Regions from separate parts of the Homo sapiens genome. Here region 2 is linked to region 1. Evidence: promoter capture Hi-C in 16 types of primary human blood cells and fetal thymus (Javierre and others, 2016). All regions are on one chromosome and are shown on one strand. The core of a region is centred on a gene start or on the middle of the fragment in contact, and the rest is flanking DNA. Distances in the headings are between cores, read along the strand shown. Region 1 holds the start of CYLD (CYLD lysine 63 deubiquitinase). Region 2 overlaps CHD9 (chromodomain helicase DNA binding protein 9).

What was found. Contacts are between HindIII fragments. The CHiCAGO score rates a contact against its expected background, and 5 or more counts as called.
Region 2: a fragment that was not itself captured here is called in contact with the fragment with the promoter of CYLD in region 1 in 1 of 17 cell types (M0 macrophages); the score reaches 8.2 in M0 macrophages.

The regions. Positions count from the first base shown.
Region 1 is chr16:50,739,301-50,746,157 of GRCh38, forward strand. It overlaps CYLD (CYLD lysine 63 deubiquitinase), which reads left to right and starts at 2,786. Exons shown (of 19, transcript NM_001378743.1): 1 at 2,786-2,824; 2 at 3,462-3,541. CYLD-AS1 (CYLD antisense RNA 1) reads right to left here and starts at 3,447. Exons shown (of 7, transcript NR_184279.1): 1 at 3,371-3,447; 2 at 2,028-2,104; 3 at 1,380-1,494. MIR3181 (microRNA 3181) reads left to right here and starts at 3,005; the gene lies at 3,005-3,077. RefSeq lists a silencer at 2,601-3,200 and an enhancer at 3,441-3,540. The HindIII fragment of the contact is 2,791 bases long and covers 2,316-5,106 here.
Region 2 is chr16:53,056,129-53,062,985 of GRCh38, forward strand. All of the region lies in intron 1 of CHD9 (chromodomain helicase DNA binding protein 9), which reads left to right. Among named protein-coding and RNA genes, the nearest start is that of CHD9, 4.6 kb to the left of the region's middle. RefSeq lists enhancers at 1,901-1,950, 5,248-5,307, 5,418-5,467, 5,728-6,087 and a silencer at 4,497-4,723. The HindIII fragment of the contact is 1,942 bases long and covers 1,891-3,832 here.

The DNA of each region.
Region 1 (6,857 bases), core at 1,536-4,035:
ATTCTTCTTCTGAGGCTTACCACAGCCATAATTAAGTAAGTGATCATCTAATGAGTATTTTAGTTTGCCTTTTTTTTTTTTTTTTTTTTTGCCAGAGGGAGTGTGGCATCTCTCTTGTACACTGCTATGTTTCCTGGAACCTGCTCAGTAACACAACCGCTAGTTCCATGAACCCAGGACCAGGCTGGATGGAAGAGGCTGTGGGGTGGTGGATTGAGAGAGGTCATTAGTGAGGGCTGGAGCCCTCTGTGAAGACATGTCTGTAAAGGACTTTGACTAGGTCCTCCATGAAGGGAGGATTTGGAAGGCAGAGATGATGAGCATTTCAGTTGGGGAATCCATTTTAACAGAGGTGGAAAGAGTCTTGGCTTGGAATCAGGGTCTCGGCCCATCTCCTGAGTGACAGGGGCTTGTAATTTACTGTCTTTGGGCCTTCATCTACTACCTGTAAAATGAGAGGCTGGTTCACCAAGGACTGCAAATAATAGCACCATGACACTATCTCCCCATCTTATCCCCTGGCAGATATCTCTCTTCCCGGTGAGCCTGAATATAAGTTCAGAATTAGCTTTAACGCAATGTTCTAAGCAGCCATTCCCAATTGATAGGAAATGATAATTGAGATAAGCCCCATTTGTCAGGCTTGACTTGGATGAAGATCCCTTAGATGAAGTCAGGCCCCGGCACTGATTCAGTGAACGTATGACAGGACAGAGCCTGGGGACGAAAGCCCTATGGAAGTAGAGACCTCAGCAGCACCAAACACCATCAACAGAAAGGACACAAAAATAGGCCGGGCACATTGGCTCATGCCTGTAATCCCAGCACTTTGGGAGGCTGACGCAGGCAGATCACTTGAGGTCAGGAGTTTGAGACCAGCCTGGTCAATATGGTGAAACCTTGTCTCTACTAAAAATACAAAAATTAGCTGGGTGTGGTGGCAGGCACCTGTAATCCCAGCTACTTGGGAGGCTGAGGCAGGAGAATTGCTTGAACCTGGGAGGCGGAGGTTGCAGTGAGCTGAGATCGCACCATTGCACTCCAGCCTAGGCAACAGAGCAAGACTCTGTCTCAAAACAAAGAAACAAACAAACAAACACCCCAGCAACAACAACAACAAAAACAAAAAGAAGGGACATGAAAATATTCTAGTCCAGAGTGGCAAACTCAGATGCCTTAAGGGACCAGTGGATGTAGATCGTGCAGATAAGAGAAGTGGTCCCAGTGGTAACATGAGAATGTTTGCCTTGCCTAAAAGGACCCCAAATCTCTCTCCTTCACATTCTTTTCTCCTTCCTCCTTATCGTATGGGTTAGGCAAAAACAAATTTCAGCTGAAATTTTCTTCCAGACAGTTGGACTGTGACCTCTGAGTCCTACCAGCTTTGTTGGAGAATCCAGATGTAGATGAGAACGGTGTTGCCTAAGGCCACACTTCAAGCCAGGCCCGTTGATTTCCAACTTATGGCTTCCTACAGCAGTGTGGTCATGAAGCCTGGAAAACAGGAAGATAGGAGTGACAAAAGAGGGACAGGAGTAGAATGAGGCTTAGGTTTTCAAAAGATGCTCATTTCATTTTGGATGACTATGGCAAGGAAGAGTGGTGGCCTGTCTACTGCTACTGTTAGTCATCACTCATGTGACTGTTTTTATGTATTCATTGGTTTAAATTCCCTGGATCTCCAGAAACATGTCACTTTCCACTGGGGGAAATTTGTGTCATGATTAAAAACACACACACACACACACACACACACACACACACCCCTCCTCCTTTCTCAGTGTTAATCACCTTCTCCTATAATTAGCACTTAAAATGTCAAAGGAGAAGAAATTAATTAACAGGAGTATCCAGTGCAGCAAGGCTCTAGGACTGATTATAAAAAGCACTTCCTTAAATATTTTGAGTGCTTTTGGGAATCAGAAGCCTCCCTTCTAATTGAAAGATCCTTAACTACACCCTAAGTCCTGGCTGGTGGCCAGGGGTGCGGGGCTGAGTGAGGCGGCGTGTGGAAATCCCTTCTTCACCATCCTTGGGAAAATTCCCTCCAAACTGGGATAGGTGGCAACAGAGGTTCGGAAACAGCAAGCGTCCCAGGCTGAATCTGCGGAGGAGGAAGAGATGAACCTTTCCTGAGCTGGTACTGCGTGCCAGGAACTTTAGCTCGGTATTTTGCCACAATCCTGTAAGACAACCGATACTATGATCTCCATTTTACAGATGAGGACATTGAGGCTCAGCGTGGTTGTGACTTCCTCAGGTCACGCAGCCACTGAATGAAAGCGCCAAAGATTCAAACTGAGGTCTGATTCTAAAGCTTTGCTCTCTCACGGCATCCTGGAATCCTATTTCAACCTTCATCTGGACTCTTAACCCAGCCCAAACCTAAGCGTCTACAGTTTTGACAGCTGAGGCGGGAGCACGGGAGGCGGAGCTGGTGGCAGCGCAGCGCCCCGCCCCGGCTCCAGCATCAGCCAATGGTGACGCGGCACCCACAGCCTTTCGCCCAATCAGCTTGAGCTTCCCGCCTCCATCCGCCGCTCTTCTCTGCCCCGCCCCTTCGCTTTCCCTTTGGTTCCACCGAGCTTGACAGAGCGGAAAGTCCCTTCGGCCGGCGCCGGGCTGGCAGCCATTGGAGGAAGGTCTGTCACAGGGAGGCCCAATCACGGCCCGCTCAGGAGCGCAGCTCGGCCTACGATTGGCTAGCGCGGCGGCTGCCCCCTCCGCCCCCGCTCCCTCCCTCTTCCCTGTGCGGTTCGGAGGCGGGGCAGGTGGGGGCGGGCCCAGGTAGCAGGTTTGGCTGCGCGGGGGCCGCGCGTCGGAGGTAAATACTAGGGCGGTGGGTGTGGGGAGCCGGGGCCGGCCCGGGACGCGGGCTGGGGAGCCGGGGCGAGGGGCGACGCCCCGCCGCCCGAGGTTAGTGAATGAGCGGGCGGCTGGCGGCCGGCGGGCGGCCGGATCCCCTCGGCGCAGCCGCCTGGCCTCAGGGCGTCCGGAGCCGCCGCGGCGACCATCGGGCCCTCGGCGCCGGCCCGTTAGTTGCCCGGGCCCGAGCCGGCCGGGCCCGCGGGTTGCCGAGCCCGCTGACGTCAGCCCGGGTTTCCCCCCCCCACCGGGGCTTCCCCATCCCCCGAGGCTTCCCGGGAGGGCTGCGAGTCCGGGGAGCGTGCGGGGTCGCCACCATCGGGACCCCCAGAGGAGAGAGGACTTGGGGCGGGAGCCGCGCGGGACGCTGTCCCCCTCCCGCCCCCCACCCCATTTACAGATTGGGAGACTGAGGCACAGGCCGCTGGCGGGCCCCGACGGCCACGGTTGGCCTCAGGAGCCCGGGGCTGTGATTCCTACCGACCGCGCCGCGGGGCGTACGTACCGATCGATTTTGCGGGTGTTGGTGGCTCCCGTCCAGGAATGGCAGTCGGGGTTCTGGCCTTGTTAATGGCGTGTTCTGCTTTTTCTTTCAGTTTCCCCCTTTCTAGGGTGAGGATGGTTCTACACAGCCACCCGGAGTTCCTTAGTTGAAAGGTGCGCCCTGCTGTGACAGGTATTCTTTCTTTATGTTTTTCTTTCATGTTAACAATCGAGGGGGGTGGGGGGCGAATGGGGGGCGGGGGCGAAGTCATGAAATCTTCAGGAGATGGTGTTGAGTTTGGTACTCAGCTGGGTCAGCTGCCGGTTATTCATGTACTTGGCATCGTTTCTCTTCCACCCCTTGGCATTTGAATGTTTTAGGATAGTTGTCATCTTCCAGCCACCAAGCCTGTGGCCTTGCAGTCTCCCAGCCCCCATCATCCCTGCCACCTTCTTCTCCTCAATTTTTCCTGGAAAGTTTTATCCTTAGCTCAGCTAAGGAGCATGCCTACCTTGCTTTTGAATTCGGGCTAATTAGGGATCTTAATAAGATTGTTCATTTTGCAATCATTGGCTCTCAGAGAAGCACCCAGGCCTTGAGAGGGTGTTCGTTTGATTGTTGGCTTTCTACACACCCCCTCACGCCCCAAGTAGACTGAATGGCCTTAAGAATTTAGCCTCCCATTCCCCACTGAGCAGTAGGTGGATTTGAACTAGAACAGTATTAGGAGAAAATGATTTGCTGGAAATTCTTATTGAAGTAACACCCAGAACATTCTCTAATATTCTGCTGCAAAATTGTATAGTATTCTTGCAAATAAACCTTCCTCTGGGTGGTAACTTTTGTGAGAAGCAGATAAGGCTTGTTATATAAAGCACAACTAACATTAAGCAGCAATGATTTTTATAGTCTGGCACACCTAAACTGTGGTTTTGTTTGATTTAAGGAAGTCTCCAACACAGGGAGAGAGAAAGGAATAGTTATGTTGTTTATCAAACTATTAGTATTTTGTTCCTGATTTTCACACTATGATTTAAATTAGTTTTTTTTTCATTGGTTGTACAGAATTTATAAGCATCATACATGCTAGTTGAGGCTGTAGGAAGCTAGTATCAAATAAACCTCAAAACAACTTGGTTTCGTAATTGTGAAATTTTCCGTATTTGTTTCTTCTTATATGTATAACAATGAAGTGGTTTAGCATGATTTCATTTTATCTAGAGAATTACTGAAGTTTTAGGCAAAATTCATTAAATACTCCCAATTCCTGAGTCTTTTTCTCTTCTCTTTCTCTTGGTTTAATCCCTTAAACAGGAGGAGGAAATGCAATTTTGTTTTCACTGTTACCACTTGAGTCTTTCATTCATTTCTCTGTATTCAGTGCCTAGCATATGCCAGGCTCTCGTGTGGGCACTGGATAATATAAAAATGAAGGACTTGGGGAATTCACAGTTTGGCAGTGGAGTGGCTAGGTTTAACACTAGAGAGGCAGCAGTATTCCTTGTTCCAGTGGGAATATGCAGATGTGAGAGGCTCTTCTTTTCTTTTTTTTTTTTAACCTTATAAATCCCACTTGTATTAGGGACTGTGTACTTGTGACACAAATTAGTCATTGAGGAAAATTAAAACGGACTCAGTCTTTTTTCTGGCCACGGAATCTCTGTATCTCTATTCTTTAGCTGTTTAGAAATATAACAACTTTGTCTTTTAGTGAGAGATGTTCTCTTTTAAAAGGATGATCATTCTAGCTATCCAGAAGCTTTTGGAAAAAGGCCCACATGTCTTCTTTCTTTGGTGTTCAAGCTGACCTTCCTACCTCTTTGCCATTTATAATTAGGGGCAGAATTAAGTATTGTAAGTTTTATTCTAATTTAAATAGCTTCCTGTGGTTTTTAGAACAAGCAGGATATCTTTGGAGATGCAAAAAGCTCTTGAATTGGATCTGTCTTTGTGAGATCCTTATGAACAATATAACCTGATAACTTGAGAATCAGAAAAACACTGCATCTTCTGGATAAGTTAACCATTGTTAGTTTTCTGTAGCTACTGATGTTCATTTGTACTATATGTTGCCTTTCAGAATGTGGTAATTGTAATCTTTAACATTTTCATGTAAAACATATTTCCTGATCATCTTTCCATTGTCTTCATGGAAAATTGATAAATATTTGTGCCTTCCAACTCTCGTCTTGGTTGAATGACTTCATCTTAATACAAGTAAGTTCCCCTTTACTCAGAATCCAGACCATCAACAAGCTCAGATAACCAGAAATGTTTTCAAATCTATGTGAACCTGAACTGTTCTCCTTCATCAGCGTCCTTAAAGGAAAGGCCTTCTGTTCAACATGGCTTTAGGGTTAAACATATTATTGTGTTTCAACTCGTTGGTAATTTTCATTCAGTATTTATTACCAAGATATTCATAATCACACAGTTATCCAGCCTGAAGTAAGATAGTATTTAGATGAGTCATTTGTGATATACTCACTCAAAGTGATTCAACCTGCAAAATAATAAGAGAATACAAGTGAAAATTTCTCCCTTCACACTGACCCCTCACCCCCACCTGCCCTACGGTGACTTTGAATTTAGCTGTGCTTCTTTTTCCTTCAGTTGTCTTACTGTTCCCTAGGCCTTTACTTAAAGGCAGAAGCTGAGTGAATGTGGATTGATGTTGGGTTTTTTTTTGTGTGTGTTCTCTCTTTCCTCTTTGTTTTTTTTTTTTTTTTTTTTTTTGAGACCAGGTCTTGCTCTGTCACCCAGGCTGGAGTACAGTGGTGTGATCATAGCTCTCTTCAGCCTGGACCTCCTGGGCTCTAGCGATCTTCCCATCCTCCAGAGTAGCTGGGACCCTGAGTAGCTGGGCCCACAGGCAGACACCACCACACCCGGCTAATTTTCTTTTCTTTTTTTTTCTTCCTTTTGGGACAGGCTCTCATTCTGTCACCCAGGCAGGAGTGCGGTAGTGCTATCACAGCTCACTAAAGCCTTGAACTCCAGGGCTTAGGGGATCCTCCCACTTCAGCCTCCAAAGTGCTGGGATTACAGGAGTGAGCCACTGTGCCTAGCCTAGATGATGTAGTTTTCAGTATCTAACTCTGTACTGAAAGCGTAAAAAATACCAAACTAACAAACCAACCTTCTTGATGATAAATAACTCATTTACAATGTGATTTAGATCTTTCCCTTCATATTGTGTTGAGTCAGTTTTTACTGCTTGGGGTACCTAAGACTTTAACTATTTAACTACTATGCACATCCCAGTGAAAGTAGACTGTTGGTGTTATATTCACTTCTACAGTGGGGAGAAATGTATGTTAGCATATTTTTATTGCAATACTGGTATTTTGAGTACATAAAATAAATATATATATATAATGGAGTGTGTATATATGTGAGAGAGTGTGTGACAGGGTCTTGCTTTTTCACCCAGGCTGAAGTGCGGTGGCGTGATCATGGCTTGCTGCAGTCCCTCCCTCCAGGGCTCAAGCCATCCTCCCACCTCAGC
Region 2 (6,857 bases), core at 1,612-4,111, 2.3 Mb after region 1:
CATTCTCCAGCCTCGGCCTCCCAAAGTGCTGGGATTATAGGCATGAGCCGCTGCGCCCCGCTGACCCCTTATGTTTATATAACAGCAGTGTTACTAACATGGGCATAGATTCCCCCCCATAGGCAGCCCTTCCTTTGTGACCTTGGAAACTCACTGAACCATCCTCAGCTTCAGTTTTTGTATCTGCAAAATGGGTGTGAAAATCGGGTTGCCTTGGGAATTATTCACAATAAAAGCTACTGTTTACTAAGGGTTCACCCTATGCTAGAGGCTTTCTGTGCAGGGCCAAGTTAGACTCCTGACCATAACTTCCACGGTAGAACTATGAATACTGCATTTGATAGCCAAGGAAACTGAGGCTCAGAGAGGCCAATGATCTTGCTCGAAGTTATATAATTAATTAATAAGAAGCATGTCCCATATTTGAACCCAGGCAGTCTGCTCTTGAGCTCAGGTGCAAAAGAACAATACTCTGCTGTTTCCCTTGTTGACCAGGACAGCGTGCACGGGGCAGGCGCGTGGTGTGTCTTCACAAACACTAGCTATCACTGCTGTGAGCTGAGCACTTCCACTGAATTGACTCATTCGCTCATTGGAAATACATTTATTATTGAGAGCCTACTGTGGGCCAGGCAGTTTTCCAGATGCTAGAGATAAAATATGAGTAAGACAGAATTCAGCCAGCCCCGAATGAGAGAAACAGGAAGAAAGTGCAGTAGATTCTCATTATTCACAAGTTCTAAATTTGCAAATTCTTCCCTGTAATCCCAGCACTTTGAGAGGCTGAGGCAGGAGGATCGCTTGAGGCTAGGAGTTTCAGATCAGCCTGTGCAACAGAGCAAGGCCCTGTTTGCTTAAAAATTATACACATTGAATAATTCTTAAAAAAAATTTGTTTGTGGCCAGGCATGGTGGCTCATGCATATAATCCCAGTACTTTGGGAAGCTGAGGCAGAAAGATTACTTGAGGCTAGGAGTTCCAGATCAGCCTGGGTAACACAGTAAGACCCTATATCTTTATTTTAAAAATTATATAATTAAAGAATTTTTAAAAAAATATGTTTGTGGCCGGGTGTGGTGGCTCACACCTGTAATCCCAGCACTTTGGGAGACTGAGGTGTGAGGTTAGGAGTTTGAATTTAGGAGTTTGACACCAGCCTAATCACTTGAGCTAAGGAGTTTGAGACCAGCCTGGACAGCATAGAGAGACCTTGGCTCATTTAAAAAAAAAAAGAGGAAAAAAGGCCGGGTGCAGTGGCTCATGCCTGTAATCCCAGCACTTTGGGAGGCCGAGGTGGGTGGATACCTGAGGTCAAGAGTTCGAGACCAGCCTGGCCAACATGGCAAAACCCCGTCTCTACTAAAAATTCAAAAAATTAGCTGGGCGTGGTGGCAAGAGCCCGTAATCCCAGCTGCTTGGGAGGCTGAGGCAGGAGAATTGCTTGAACCTGGGAGGTGGAAGTTGCAGTGAGCCAAGATCACGCCATTGTACTCCAGCCTGGGCAACAACAGCGAAACTCCATCTCAAAAAAAAAAAAGAAAGAAAAAAGAAAAATAATGTCTGCGTAACTTCCAAATCAATATCCATGACACTTTCACAGTCATATATGGATGCACGTAGAATAGTGAAAAAGTTGAGTCACCCAACGTGCACATTTCCAGCCAAGGGCAAACAGGAGGACACGCTGCTTTCTGGTTTCAGCTCTTGTGCTATAAACAAGTGTCCCTTTTGTGGTGTACTTAGTGCCACATTTTTTGCATGTTTGTGTGTTTTTGTTTGTGATGTCGCTGTTTGAAATGGCCCCAAGTGTACAGTTGACGTGCTGTCTAGTGTTCCTAAGTATGAGAAGGCTGCGATGTGCCTTACAGAGAAAGCTTGTCTGTTAGGTAAGCTTCGTTCAGGCATGAGTTATAGTGCAGTTGGCTGAGTTCAGTGTTAATGAATAATATGTATATATATCAACAATATATATCAAATAAGGTGTCTTTTGTCTTTGTTTTTGTTTTTTTGAGATGGAGTCTCACTCTGTCTCCCAGGCTGGAGTGCAGTGGCACGATGTCAGCTCACTGCAGTCTCCACCTCTGGAGTTCAAGCGATTCTCCTGCCTCAGCCTCCCATGTAGCTGGTACTACAGGCACATGCCACCACGCCCAGCTAATTTTTGTATTTTTAGTAGAGACGAGGTTTCACCATGTTGCCCAGGCTGGTCTCGAGCTCCCGACCTCAGGTGATCACCCACTTTGGCCTCCAAAGTGCTAGGATTACAGGCTCAAGCCACAGCACCTGGCCTATAAGGTATCTTTAAACAGAAACACACATAAACAAAGGTTATGCATTGATCTGCCAGGCAGAAGGTGGGGTTAGAAAAAGATGTTTCTGGCAGAAAGGTCAGCATGTACAGAGATAGCCAAGAGCTTGGCAAGGCCAGGGGACTCAAGGAGAGCCAGTGGGCAGGGAGTGTGGTGGTGAAAGGGAGAGAGGCTGGGGCCAGGCGGCTCAGTGTCTTGTGGGCAGCTCTCATTTCATCCGATTAGCACGGTAATCCTGGCAGGTTGGACAGGATCATTTCCGCCTTTGAGAGATGATGAAATTGACGTTCCATGCTGTTAAATGACTTGCCCAAAGTTGCACTGCTGGTAAGCAGCAACACCCCCCACCCTCCAACTTAATCTAATGTTGACCAGACATTTGGGTTTTTTGTTTTGTTTTGTTTTGTTGGTTTTTGGTTTCTTTTGTTGTTGTTTTTAAGACACAGGGTCTTGCTCTGTCACCCATGCCTCCTGTAGTGGTATGATCATAGCTACTGCAGCCTCAACCTCCTGAGCTCGAGGGATCCTCCCACCCAGCCAAGTAGCTGGGGCTACAGGTGCACACCATCATGCCCAGCTAATTTTTTAAGTAGGGTCTTACTGTGTTGCCTAGGCTGGTCTCCAACTCCTAGACTCAAGTGTTTCTCCTGCCTTGGCCTCTCAAAGCACTGAGATTACAAGCATGATCTACCTTACCTGGCCAACATTTGGGTATTGATCAGAAATCTCAGGACGTGGGCTGGAGGTTTGGTTTGTTCTGGGGAGAAATCAGTAACTAAGTGGTGGTGAAAGTGATCAAGCGTCGATGAAACCACGTGGGATAGTGGCAGGGTGTGGAGAAGAAAATTTCTCATGTCCTTTAAAAAAGAAAAATATTTCTGGTGGCTGGGCACAGTGGCATATGCCTGTAATCCCAGCACTTTGGGAAGCAGAAGTGGGAGGAATGCTTGAGGCCAAGAGTTCAAGACTAGCCTGGGCAACATAGTGAGACCCCCACCTCTATCTTTAACAACAAGAAAAATGGAAAAAAAATTTAGTCAAAAAATATTACTGGTATAAAGACATGAATTCCTCTGTGAAAGAGTCTTAGGTACTTGCAGAGGGTGGGAGTAATGACCATGGTCATAAAGATGTGGCAAAAGGAAATGTGAGGTTCTGATTCAAACTGCCCCCAAATACTAGGTCTGGGCATCGGCCTCCCCACTCATGGGGCAGCCAGGCCTCAATCTGCCTCTTGTCTCTGCAGGATAATGACCGTGAACAGGCATCAGCAAACTTTTTCTGTAAAGGTCCAGAGAGTAAATATTTTGAGCTTTATGGACCATAGGGTTTCAGTTGCAACTGCAGTAAATTCTCAATTAATGTCCTCGTTAGGTTCTTAGAAACTGCAACTTTAAGCGAAATGACGTACAGTAAGTCCAAGTAACGTCGTTTCTTGTAATGTTGATGAGAAACTGCCACTGTAGAGTAAAAGCAGCCGTAGATGGTATGTAAACAAATGAGTATATCTGGGTTCCAATAAAGCTTTATGGACACTGAAGTTTTGAATTTCACATAATTTTTCTGTGTCACAAAATATTATTCTTTAAACATTTTTTTCAACCATTTAAAAATGTAAAAGCTGGCCAGGCATGGTGGCTCATATCTGTGATCCCAGGACTTTGGAAGACCAAGGAGGGAGGATTGCTTGGGGCCAGGAGTTCAAGACCAGCCTGGGCAACATAGCAAGACCCCCATCTCTACAAACAAACAAACAAATAAATAATGTAAAAACCATTCTTAGCTCACAGGCTATACAAAAACAGGCAGTAGGCTGGATGTGGCCTGTGGGCTGTAGTTTGCTGACTCCTGATCCCGAATAATGAGACCTGAGGATCAGAAGGATACTAGGTAGGTTGGGTGCAGTGGCTCATGCCTGTAGCCCCAGCACTTTGTGAAGCTGAGGCAGGAGGATTGCTTGAGGCCAGGAGTTCAAGGTCAGCCTGGGCAACATAGTGAGACCTCATTTCTATTTTAAAAATTTTAAAAATTAGCTGGGGCCTGGATTGGTGGCTCACACCTGTAATTCCAGAACTTTGGGGGGCTGAGGTGGGAGGATTACTTGAGTCTAGAAGTTCCAGACCAGCCTGGGCAACATAGCAAGACCCCATATCTACAAAAAAATGAAAAATTAGCCAGGTGTGGTGGTGCACCTGTAGTCCCAGCTACTCAGGAGGCTGAGGTAAGCGAATCAATTGAGCTGAGGAGTTTGAGGTTGCAATGAGCCATGATCATGCCACTGCGCTCCAGCCTGGGCAACTGAGGGGGACCCTGTCTCAAAAAACAAACGAAAATTAGCTGGGCATGGTGGCATGCACCTGCAGCCCCAGCTACTTGGGAAGCTGACGGGGGAGGATCACTTCAGACCAGGAGTTTGAGACTATAGTGAGCCATGATTGCACCACCGCACTCCAGCCTAGGTGACAGGGCAAGATGTTGTCTCTTTTTTTTTTTTTTTTTTTTTTTGAGACGGAGTTTCACTCTTTTGCCCAGGCTGAAGTGAAATGGCATGATCTCAGCTCACTGCAACCTCCGCCCCCCCGGGTTCAAGCGATTCTCCTGCCTCAGTTTCCCAAGTAGCTGGAATTATAGGTGCCCACTGCCATGCCTGGCTAATTTTTGTGTATTTAGTGGAGATGGGGTTTCGCCATGTTGGCCAGGCTGGTCTCGAACTCCTGACCTCAGGTGATTCACCCGCCTTGGCCTCCCAAAGTGCTAGGATTACAGGCATGAGCCACCTCGCCTGGCCAAGATGCTGTCTCTTTAAAACAAAAAAACAAACAAAAAAGACAGACACACAAAAGGAATACTAAGTGTTCATCTGATTTGAGTCTTTACCTGACCTGTGAATCTCCATTGAACATTGTCAGCCATTTCTTGAGTCCTCAGTAAGATGGAACTTCACATCTCACTGGGCAACTCATTCCACTGACAGAAGTTTAAAGCTGTGTCATAGTTGTAGTTTCCCCCAAAGCAGATCACGAGAAAAGGATTCAGGTGCCAGAAATGTATTTCGGAAATGATCCCAGGAAGCCCAGTGAGAGTGAAATTAACCGAGAAAGGGAGAAAAGCCAATAAAAAAGGTGTTGATGAGTGAGTTACCACTGGGCAATTGGGTCTCCATCCCTCAGGGACCCTTAGCGAGACTATAGAAAATATTTCAGAAGTGTCCCACGAAAAGGCAGGGAGACTGGGGTATATCCTCGACTCTCATACCTCATTATTGAGGGTTGTCTTGCTAACTGTCTGCTGTGCACACCCTGAAGCCAGAAAATAACTTAAAGCAGAAGTGAAAGGTAGCCCAGGGCATCTGGAAATGTCTGCAGGTAACCTCGGGTGAGCTGAGGAGTATGGGTGGGGCACCCATAGTGTCTCCAACAAAGTGTTTCTGACTTTGCTTTCTAAGATGTGCAACTCATACCACAAGGGGTCTTGTGAGATGGCTTTGGTGTGGCACAGAGAGAGACATGGTACCCAAGAGCACAAAGTCTCAGAATGGGAAAGGGATTTTTCCCTTTTGAGCTGTCTCTTTGATCCTGCTCTGCCCGCCTCTCACCCCTGGGGCTGCCCTCTCTCCCCAGAGCAGGTGCTCCACCCACGCTGGCCTTTCACTTCCTCCAACTTGTGGGACTGGGACTCTTGCTTCTGACTGCAGCCAACAGAAGTCTGGGCAAAGTACTAGAATGCTACTGTAACACTTGATTGTCTCCTCTTTCATTGGAAAGACAGCAGTCCTCCAGTTCAGGGCATTTAAGAGGCAACAGTAAGTGTGACCATTTAATAACATTGTTAAAACTGTAACAATCTAATAACATTGTTTGCTGTTATGTTTATCTTTACAGTTTCCACCTGTACATGGCTTTTCATGTATGGTAGTAATATAACGTTTCCCTTAAAATAAATGTATATAAATCGTGTGTCCATTTAAAGAAAAATATTAAATAAGAGTATCAATGGTATGAGGATAGAATAAAATATAATAGGCCAGGTGCAGTGGCTCATGCCTGTAATCCTAATACTTTGGGAGGTACACGCAGGGAGGTCACTTGAAGCCAGGAGTTGGACACCAGCCTGGGCAACATAGTGAGACCCCATCTCTACAAAACATTTTAAAAATTACCTGGGTGTAGTGATGCATGCCTGTAATCCAGCTACTCAGGAGGCTGAGGTGGGAGGATGGTTTAAGCCCAGGAGTTCGAGGTTACAGTGAGCTATGATCATGCCACTGCACTCCAGGAAGACCCCAATTATTTAAAAATAAAAATTTATGGAGCCGGGTGCGATGGCTCACGCCTGTAATCCCAGCACTTTGGGAGGCCAAGGAGGGCTGATCACCTGAGGTTGGGAGATTGAAACCAGCCTGACCAACATGGAGAAACCCCATCTCTACTAAAAATACAAAATTAGCCAGGCACATGCCTGTAATCCCAGATACTCGGGAGGCTAAGGGAAGAATCGCTTGGACCCGGGAGGCAGAGGTTGTGGTGAGCCAAGATCGCGCCATTGCA